2 separate regions of the Homo sapiens genome follow, and region 1 is linked to region 2. The links are contacts of gene promoters, found by promoter capture Hi-C in human tissues and cell types (Jung and others, 2019). All regions are on one chromosome and are shown on one strand. Each heading gives the region's core, a stretch centred on a gene start or on the middle of the fragment in contact. The rest is flanking DNA. Distances are from core to core; before and after follow the strand shown. Region 1 overlaps DPYD (dihydropyrimidine dehydrogenase). Region 2 holds the start of DPYD (dihydropyrimidine dehydrogenase).

What was found. The method cuts DNA at HindIII sites, captures the fragments that hold promoters and counts their contacts. A contact is called where the count stands out against the background at its distance.
Region 1: a contact is called between a fragment that was not itself captured here and the fragment with the promoter of DPYD in region 2, in 1 of the 25 tissues and cell types used here (dorsolateral prefrontal cortex).

Annotation. Positions count from the first base shown.
Region 1 is chr1:97,514,725-97,520,340 of GRCh38, forward strand. DPYD (dihydropyrimidine dehydrogenase) reads right to left here. Exons shown (of 23, transcript NM_000110.4): 13 at 1,002-1,217. Among named protein-coding and RNA genes, the nearest start is that of DPYD-AS2, 280 kb to the right of the region's middle. The HindIII fragment of the contact is 5,806 bases long and covers 1-4,165 here.
Region 2 is chr1:97,917,028-97,922,642 of GRCh38, forward strand. It overlaps DPYD (dihydropyrimidine dehydrogenase), which reads right to left and starts at 4,007. Exons shown (of 23, transcript NM_000110.4): 1 at 3,857-4,007. The coding sequence starts at 3,895. RefSeq lists a silencer at 3,813-4,212. The HindIII fragment of the contact is 7,083 bases long and covers 2,192-5,615 here.

The DNA.
Region 1 (5,616 bases), core at 13-2,512, 410 kb before region 2:
GACTTTTGAGAATTCTCTAGATTTTCCTGACCACACTTACACATTGCATCTTGTAAAGCTGTCAGAGTAAGACAGCCTTAATGTTTTAGCCATAATAATGCCAGCTATTGATCCTAGTAAGAGGAAAAAGAGAGAATGTGCTTAATGGGGCATGTTTGTTCTCTATTATTTTCTTTGCCTAAGGATAAAGCTGATTCAAATAATGATACTCTTTTCTTAGTCACTAAATTCACACATTCATATACATTAATTATTACTAACTACCAGTTAGTATTAAATACATTGAGAGGTTTAGCATTTGTAATTTATCAATAAATGGTCTAAAAATGTTAAAGTCTGTTGTTCTTTTCTAATTCAAAACCATATAAGGATGCAATCCTCTTGTATAAAGCATCTTACTTTGAAAACATGCATTTATATGCTTTGTGTACTTTAAAGACTCAATCTCAACTTTAATACGTAGTTTATTTCCTACTAAGTATAAGATGTCCACTTCTGGTTAAGTACAAAGTCATAATGTTAAATGAAACTCAGGGTATTTGTTTTTGAGAAAGGTTTCTGTATTCCAAATTTATAAAGAATCTATCTTATCACCAATACCAATAAGTTACACTGAGATTCTTTTCAACATAAATTGAATTCCAGAATTTTGTGCAAACCAAATCAATTGTGTCCCTATCTTTGAGCTGAGGCATCCAAAAATAATGAAACAATTAATAATACAAAAATAAGAGTTTGAGATTATTAAATGAAAAAGTCACTTTCATAATATTTATATCTTTGTTGCTTCCTAGACAATACTAAATGAGCAATATATGCCTGCCCCTTCTTCCATGGGACAGAAAGGAAGGAAAGAAACTAAAGATTAATGTGTAATGATAGGTCTTGTCAAATAGTTTAATAAGTAGTATTTCTTAGTAAAAAAAATCCATTATAATGTTTATACCTTAATTAAAATATATGATAGACATTTCTATATGACTTCAATAATATTTTCTTACCTTATCAAGAGAGAAAGTTTTGGTGAGGGCAAAACCCCATCCAGCTTCAAAAGCTCTTCGAATCATTGATGTGCTGGTGGCTGGAGTTGCGCTAGCAAGACCAAAAGGATTTATAAACTTCAATCCGGCCATTTCTACACTAATGTCCACCAGATCAATAGGAGTGTAAAAGAGGGGTAGTTCAGGCTTGGCAGAAACGGAAGCTCCATATTGTGACTGCAAAATACAAACCAATACTTGGTTTCATATTACATCTAAATTGTCCATATAATATTTTACCAAAAAAATCACTTCAACACAGCATCCGAATTAATATAGATTACAACAGTCTGTTTACAATGAAAAAAACTGGCAAAAAGTCAGTGAGCAGTGAACTGAATTCATATAATATGGCCTTTTAATTTCAAAGGCAGTATGAAGAGTACTAGCAGAAATAAAATCAATTAAATCAACAAACAACTGTATTTAAAACATACTGAGATTCAAATACAAAAGGGAATAATTTTAGAATTTTTCTCCCTGGTCCAATCCAGTCTCTTTGTACTTAAGTTATGAAAATACCTTTAGTGCTCAGAGATATGGGCAACGGCAAGTCAGGAGGCCTAAATTCAATTTCCAGTAATTTCACTACTGTTTAGGCGATTTTAGGAAAGGGAACTAATAAGTCCCTGTCTTTTCTTCTCTATAGTTTTCAGTATAGCAGCAGGAATGCTGCTTGCCTAATTTCTACCTCACAGGAAGACTGGAAAATTCAGGAAATCATAAGCTGCAGGGAGACATTTAATTTGGAAAGTGGGTAGTGTTCTCATGCATTACGGGGGTTTGTTCTTTTTTCTGAAACCAAATAGGTCCCAAATAGTTTACGTCAAAATCTTCGACTGGCACTCAAAACTGTAAATTTACCTTTGTTAAATGATCATGGTAATAATGCTTCTTTGCAGGATTATTGGAATGATTTAATAAAAACACTTACTCTTAGCACATGGCACACTGAAACATCATACATAGGTGCTTGCTAAATGTTGTCTCTTTTTCTGACTGGGGAGGTTATTAAAGATTGCATCAGGCCTTTTGTTTGTAAAGTGTCTCTCTCACTCCATTCCTCCCTCCCCTTCTCTCTCTCTATCTCCAAAAGACAAATAACATTGGAAAATATAAAAAGGATGAATTTTCTCAGCCAAAGCAGTTACTGAATGGACAGGGCTAGTTAATTCAAAAGTAGAAATCCATTCTCTTGTGAATCATCACTCAAAAGAAAAGTTATTTGAGCAGAACTTTAATTTTATAGGAGTGTGTCTTGTGTAGATAAAGATTTCCATGACTTGCATAGAAATTATTTCTGGCCCTCCACCACTTACAATGCAAAGCAAAGTTCACTTAATATGTAAAAAGGCATCAAACTTGTCAATTGAAACACTAATGTGTCTCTGGTACATGCAAAGAGATGCCTGATGGGATCCAGGCTTCAGCTATGGCAGGCACCTTCTCCCAGGGATGTTCTGGGCTTCAAGGCACATTTCTGAATATTGGTTAGTCTGGGTGTGAACATAATTTTTCTGTCCTCACACAGGATTGCTATACTATTAAAAGGATTATTAGCAAATACAAAAGCTACAATGTAAAATATAGGAAATTGGAGGTTAATTTGAGGTGTGTGTATGTATATCTGTCCACGCATGGATGTTAACAATGACAAAAACTGGCAAAAAGTCAGTTAGCAGTAAACCGAATATATACGATATCATCCTTTTTAAATTTCAAAGGAAGTATGGAAAGTATTATCAATTAAATAAACAAACAAACAACTTTATTTAAAACATACTGAAATTCAAACACAAAAGGGAATAATTTCAGAATTTTTCTCCTGGTCCCACTAACCAGCCTCTTTGTACTTAATTTATGAAACCTTGCTTGATGGTATTTTCTTAGCTTTGTGTAATCATAATGTAAATTCAATCAAGCAAGTTTTAGGGTTAGACTAAAGAAGAATTTCCTGACACTACAGGTTGATTAATATCAGTAAAAGTATAGAAGCAACTTCTCTGTCTTAGAAACAATGTTGAGCCAACTTGCCTTTGATGGCAATAGCATAACTACATATGGTCCCATGTGTCTGTACTTTACAAGGTGAAATAAGTGAACTTACAAGTATTCTTCTCTTTTTATGGCTGTGTGTTGAAATATCTATTTTTTTCAATCTTACAGATGAATTTTGGTTTGTTCATAATTGTAGCTATATATGGCATTAGGCAACAGCCCAAGGAGGCAGATATATGTGTAGTTCAACTTGCATTGCTTAATTTATGTAGTTTTAAATAAATAAGTAATTGCTTTGAAATTCTTACGAACATTGCTGCCTTAATACTTAGAAAGAAAATGATTTGGACACATTTTGCAAGATTTTCCTTAAGCTTCAAAACAAAACAAAAACCAAACACAACAAAGCAAACAATAATAAAATACACACACACACACACAGACACAATTCTTTCAAATGAGAAATACAGCTTCTTATATATTTTTTCTTTTATTCACAAAAGTGCTACTATGTATATGTGTTTATAATATAATCTAAAATCTTCACTTGTCATAGGCAGTCTTTTTTCATACTGTGCAACACAGGGCTATTTTTAGCTTTGTCTTTGTCGTGCTATAGCAACTCAGTCTGTTCAGCTTCATCATATATCCAAGCCCTAATGTACACCTCCTTTTCTGAATTTTAAAAGCCTGTTCCCCCTCTGTACCCTTGCTCAGAGAACTCAAGCATATCTACTTTCAGCTCCCATCACAAGGTTAATTCCTCCCAAACCTCAATTGCAATCTCCAAACTCAGATTTCCAAGAGACATCAAGGCCTTTGGATGTAGATGCTTTGCTCTTACACTTTAACCTCAACTCTTTTATCTCATCATATTCCCTCCTAACAAATATGTTATTTAGATTTTCAATTTCAGAAAATACTATTTTTCCATTCATCCAGTAGTGTTAGTAAATAACAGATATAAGGAAACAACCTAGGTGTTGAACAATGGGGATAGGTTCCATAATGGCTATATTGTAAAAAGGAATGCTATGCTAGTATCAGAAATGATACAGAAGAAAATAATTTATTGACATGAAAGAGGGTTTATTATGTACAAAGTAAAACTGTGAGTTAATATTATAATATTATATGTAAATTCCAAGTTTTTGGTGGAAAAACACATATATCTATTTTGCTGTACGTTTCTGTTTATCCATCAATCACAAAAGATAAACATCAACATGCTAGGAGAATTACATCTCAGAATCAGGGTTTTAGATGACCTTTAATTTTTAAATTTTTGCTTATTATAATTTTCATATTTTCAATAATAAATACAAGTTAATTGAGATAGATTTGAAGGTAAACTAAAACAATTTTTAAAAGCCATGTGTGTTAGTTCATTTTTACACTGCTGTTAAAGACATGCTCAAAACTGGGCAATTTACAAAGGAAAGAGGTTTAACTGGACTTACAGTTCCACCTGGCTGGGGAAGCCTCACAATCATGGTGGGAGGCAAGGAGGAGCAAGTCACATCTTACATGGATGACAGCAGGCAAAGAGGGAGAGCTTATGCAGTGGAACTCCTCTTTTTAAAACCATTAGATCTTGTGAGACTTATTCACTATCAGGAGAACAGCACAGGAAAGACCTGGCCCCATGATTCAATTTCCTCCCAACGGGTCCCTCCCACAACACATGGGAATACAAGATGAGATTTGAGTGGGGACACAGTCAAACCATATCATCCTGATACTCTAAAACCCATTAAGTGAAGCTCAAAGTAAAGAGCCTGCCCTTTAGTTTCCTCCATAGAGTGTCCTGAATCAACTTTTTCAGTTCTATGTATTATTATGTAGAGCTAGAACAATCAAAGAGACTATCTACTTTAAAAGCTTTATTTTACAAAGAGAAAACAAAAGCCAAAGGAGGCTAAATGAATATCTGTAAGTTGCTCAGTTACTGGTAAAGCCACAATAAAATATATAGTTTGCTGTCTTGTTGGCTTATGTTCTTAAGCCACCCCTCAGAAATAAAATGTTTCAATCATTGCTTCTCCAAAATACTTTGTGCCTCCCTACCTCTGCACTTTTCACATTCCATCTTTCTTCTCCATCTGCTGAAAATTACCCATTCTAAAGTCCTTCCCTTGTCATTACAGAGAAATTATTTTATCTGAGACACTTATAGATCATAAAAAATATAATTATTTTAATTAATTACATTGAAAATATTTGGTTATATGTTTAAGTATTAAAATGCATTAACTTCCCCATATTTTTCAGGAAACCAACTTAAAATTTCTTTGCATGGCATAGTCTGATTTTTTTATAACATAGTGCCAATATACCTGTTAGACTCAGTTATTAATGTTCATATAGAACTATTTTCATTCATTTACTTATTCAGCAGGTATTTGTTAAGAACTTGGGGTTAAAAAGATGAACAAAACAGACAAGGTCTCTGACATTTATATGCAAAAAAATACAAATAAATCTACCACCTACCACCAAATAAACACAAAATTTAAACTACCAATAGTTCATCACACTGTTACATGTATTTTACCTGCCTAAAATACAAATAAATCTA
Region 2 (5,615 bases), core at 2,757-5,256:
CAAAACAGCTTAAAGTAGGAAGTACAAGCATGTTTTCAACAACTCTAACTCACAAAATAGTTTTAAAAAGTTAAAGCTTTAAAAGTCTTAATTTATTTAAGAATATATTTCCAAAAGATCTGCAGTGCCCAGTCAATAAAAGGAAGGAGAAAAGAAATGACTGATGCTTACACATTCAGTAAAAATATATCCATTTAAATCAATAAACAACTCATGGCTTTGTATAAAGTGGAATCTTTATTATCTTTTTTGGATCCATGATTCTCCTTCCTCCCCAGCAGCAAAGGCAATTATGATAAAAGATGTTCTGAAAATTTTTTTGCCATCTCTGCCAATTTATAACCCATGACTTTCCTTGTTTCAAAATTTGTAAAGTCCACTTTCTCCAAGTCTTTCCCATTATGCTTCTATTTTCCAAATTCGCTATTTTTAATCTCATTTTCCTAGTTAATCATACAGAAAATTCCCAATTACCTTTTCAAATGAATAGAAGTCACAGTATCAGTAATTCCGAAACCATTTCTGTTTGACTTAAAATGCATTTGATTTTGTGGACAATGGACTAAAATCCCTTTTTCATTTAGGGTAAATGTGAATTAAGTTTATAACCCTTTAACATTCACTAACTGATCATTCAAGGAATGGGCCTTGTGATTGTGACTGTGGTAGCAGTACAGTAACAGATAGCAACTTGGTTTGGCTACAAATATATATCAAAAGTACTAGTATTCAAATAGTTAAAAGCTTGCTGCAGCTGCATACATTTCGTTTAGATATATATACTTTCAAAGTCTATTCTCATTATCCTTGCCGGTGGAGGGGAACAAGGTCTTGAACAAAAGAGTACTGTTTCAAAATAATTCTCATTTCCTTTCAAGTGTGCAGATATTCACAATATACTGGCTGTAAATTCAATCTAAATGAAGAAGTGCTGTTAAGTTACTGCTGAGGCCTGGGAAAGTGACCAATGTCCAATACTAACCTTCTTTGAAACCATCCCAGGAGAGTTTGTATTAAAGTCATCGTTGACAAAATTCAGACTGTATCCAAACAGTACACTCACAAAGCAAAATAACTTCTAAAAGCATATAACTACTATTAACGGACTTTAAAATGCTAATCATTTCATTGGAAGTGATTTTCCTGAGAATAAGATATATTTTTCTGTTATCTTTATTTTTTAACATTTTTGTCCTTTTTCCCAACAAGATGCTGTCAACTTGTGACATTTGTTTATTATCCTTAGCAGATTTTCCATGTGCAATTCAGAGAGGCTAACTTGCCCAAACACACAGCTTAAAGTTAGACCTCAATCAGAGGCAGTTGGTTTCAGAAGCCAGGCTCTGAACCACATTAATATATCTGAAAAAAAACATGATTTCTCATGCAACTTCTATGATTACAACAACAACAACAACAATTCTGAGTAATGAGCTAGGTCCTATTACCAAGTAACACATCCTTTCCTTGCCTATCTCCCAGCCCAGGGATATTCCAGCTATGGAGTTTGGTGATCTGATTGTTTTCCATGTTCCTAACCGTCAAATCCTGATGTGATATTGGATTCAGACTAGAAATTATGAAGCAGGCACACAAAGCACCTTTATATATACCTCAATAACTTTTCCCCCAGAAACAAAGATATTTCTTGGCTGTTTCACTGAAACCTGAGGTTCTGTAGTTAGCTCATAGGGAAAAGTCAGTCACTATTAGAGTAGGTTGTTATCATCACCTTCTGTTCTTTTAACAATTGTCAAGTACTTTTCACATTTATCAATGTGTTCTTATCACATTCATTAACTGCTTCATACCAATATTTTTAAAATATTACTTGCTTATCCATGTATTTGAAGCTAAAACAATGATCACAATCAGATCTCTAGACAATGGTTGTAATGAATTTGTTCAAGAAAAGCATTCAAATTTGATGGAAAACTGAGCCTTTATAATTCATTCTAATTCTTCAACACAAAAATGAACTTTGGTAAATCAATAGGATCAACTGAGGCATTTATGCTTGAATGTGCTCCCCTAAGCTTAATGTATTTTTCCTCACTGCATTATATTTTAATGATTAATTTCATGCTCTTTCATGGTATTCTAGCTCATGAATCACGGGTATTACTTTGAGGGAAAAGTAAGGTGCTGTGAGTGATGAAAGATGTTACTGATTAAAGTGTTGCACATATGAACTACATAAGAGCTGAAGGTGTTTGAACACCAGCAATCTAGATTAAAAGTAATATTAGGCAAACTGGCCATATAGACTAAGGTTGAATTGAGTGGAGGGAGTGGGAAGGATGGGCTTCTTAAATGTTCTTAGTTGAAACAATATATGAAATCAAGCTTGGCATTCAATGTTTCACTGGCATCTTTCTCCTCAGTAGAATGTAAGAACTGATTTCGAAGACAACTGCAGAGAAAGAAATCAGTTAAGCAGATAACACACCATTCTGAAATTAAAGAGCCAAAAGCCACCCATCCTAAGTCAACTCCGATATCTTAAATCAATACTGCCTTAATACTGTCAGAAGCTTGTTTTTCGACTTAGTAAATAAAATTTTTTAAAAAGTTAAGTCAAAGTCACAAGGACCAAAAAGGAATAGACTACCCTAAATGAAATATAGAAAAAGACAAGTATCTATTATCCTGCACACAGATGAACAACTATTTGTTAAATATATCATATTGCTCAATATCAAAAAGTCAACTCTCCAAAACAGAAACCAAAAGTAAACTAACCAGAGATGTCCACATAATACACTTTGGCTCTTGTTACTAAAATGATTTTTCAAACCAAGTTATGGAGCCTGGAGAAAACAGGACTACTTCCTCCCAGAATATAAAGTTTCTTCAATTACGGAGGCAAAATGTGGCAAAAGCAGCTATTTTGCAAACAGGTGGTTTGCAAAACTTTTACTTAAGCCGCCAAAAGGACTGACGAAAGGAAAATTTTGTTATTTCTAAAGAAAACACACACACACATAATTTTCTACCAGAGTAGAAGACTCAAATAAAGAAAAGCCCCAAACAAAACAGAAAACTAAAAATCAGTTTGTCTTAGCTCAAAAGTGCTGACCTAGGTTTAGTATGTGTAAAATCACTGTTGATAATTAAATCCTTTTCATCGCATATATTAAGATACTAGAGAGAAAGGAAATGCCATGTCGTTTCAGGTAGGACCTTATTTACATAAAAAAAGATTTTTTTTAACAGAAACGGAGTGCAAGAGGGAATCAAAAACCGTTGAGAGGAGAGAAAAATACAGTTAGTTTTTCTGAGGGCACTGCATTTTTCATGTTCTGAATACTTCGTTCCATTCTCTCCATGTTAAATTATTTCATAAACAATACTATGACTAGAGGCGACTGCTACAGCTGACACACAGATGTTTTATTTCTATGCTTCACCTTTGCAAATAGCAGGATTCAGCTATTGGAAATGGGGGCAGTGGAGGTGTCCAGAAACGACATACAGGAGGTGAAGGGGTAGAACGTGTGGGAAATGGGCACTCCTACCCCCTAGAGTCCACCTCTCTGGAACTCCAGTGCTTCTTCAGTCACTGACATTCAGAGGAGGACAAGACAGGCTTCCTGAAATCTCTTCCGAAGTAAACAGGTCCCGACGCAAAGGGCAACCCCTCCAGTAGCGGAAAGTCCTCCCCTGAGCTCCCCGCCTGCCCACGCGGGCCTGTGGCTCCGCGCTCCTCCGCTCCCCCGCAGAGCTCCCACGGGGGAAACTTTCCCGCGTCTCTCACTCTCCGGGGTGCGGGGGCCGCGGGGGCCTCCCCGGCACCTACCCGCAGAGCACTCCCCACCACCCCGCCACCACCGACGAGCCGGCGCGAAGTCCGTACCTCGATGTCCGCCGAGTCCTTACTGAGCACAGGGGCCATGGCAGTGCCTACAGTCTCGAGTCTGCCAGTGACAAACCCTCCTTGCGTCCTCAAGCTCCAGCCAGAGAGCCAAGTGACAGCAGCCGGAGCGCGAGTCGAAAACAGGCAGACTAGGGCCGGCGGCGCGGGGGCGGAGCGGGCGCGGGGCGGCAACGCCCCCGGGGCGGGGCTGCGCTCTCGGTCCTGCGGCTCCCGCGCCAGGCACGGCAGCCGCAGCCCGGCCTTCCCAGTTCAGCCCGCTCCGCGCCCCAGCCTGCAAGCAGAAGGGAGGGAGGGAGTAGAGCACCCGCTCTGGGGACTGGCCTTTAATCTCTAAACTGCTAAAAACAGAGCTAGGCAGGCGGGGCCAGATAGGAGGGATCCCCAGGCAAAGGTAAAAGCAGTCCGCGCTCCAAGCAACAACTTGCACTTTTTCTTTTCTTCCACAGAAACCCCGCGAGATGTAGATACATTGTTTGAGGGGCAACTGCATTTTCAGGAACTCCTCAAGGATGAAATAGTAGATGTTCCTCCATCCATCCACCAAGTAGGTGGGCGGGGTTTGAGCTGCAGTGGAGGATACCAAAGCACCGGTCTTCTGAGAGTTCACAGCCCCAGCGGGGAGGGGAGGGAGGCGAGCAAAAACATCCACAGCCCGCAGCAGCATACAGGAAGTGCTGCAGGTGGTACATAATCAAGGTTGTCTTTTTGCAGGAAAGTCTCATTTTAATGGTTATTTTTTTAAATATTTTTTATTCTAAAACGTGAAACTCTTTTGAAAAGTTGCTCTTCGTTTTTGCTCTAGAGCTTGCTGAGGAGAAGGGAGAGATTTCCTGTAGAGTTGGTCCCAATCCAGAAAACATTCACCTCGTTTTTTGAGGATATGTGTACTCCAGACCTCTCTCCTTTTCTCCCCGCCCCCCCCCCACCCCTGTTAGATGCATCCCACCTCTCTTCTACCATAACACTTTCTACTTCCGTTAGGACATTTGCGGCACTCCTTCATGCACTTGGCTAGGTAGTGACACCTTGGAGTCAAGTATTTCTCCCTTATTATTTTTTCATTAGTCCATTCATCGTTTTATTCAACGAATATGTTTATTGAGCATTTTCAATATGCCAGACACAGACACTGTGCTAGGTTCTCCGGATATAGTCTTCAAGAATACACATCACTGTCATGGAGATTATACTCAAAATAAGCAAGTAAGAAAATGTGATGCCTGCTTGTAAGATAAAAGAAAAATAGGACAGAATAACTAGGGTATGGGTACCTTGCGTGGTTGAGAAGGCTTCTCTGAACAAACCATCAGATTACCTTCCAGAACCTGGAAATTACTAAAAGACAGATACATTTTTCTTGAATCAAATATTAACAGACACTAGAAAGTTAAATGGAAACCTTAGAATCATCTTTGACTCCTTTATCCTTATTGCCTCATTTAATCTATGCCCAAACTCTCAGAAGTCAACCTCCTAAATAGATTTTGAATCATTCATTTCTCCATTTTGCTGCATCCACCATGGTCCAAGCTACTGGTATTCTAGCTTCTATTCTTACCTCATATCCATACCAGATTGAGCTTTAGAAAGTATTAACTGGCTCATGCCATACAACGATACATCCACACACCCAGGTACCCATGGTATAAATCCTTCAATGGTCCATTGCAGTCAGAATATAATACAAACTCCCTAGTAACCGCTGAATAACCTGCTCTACTCCGCTTCTCCGCCACTC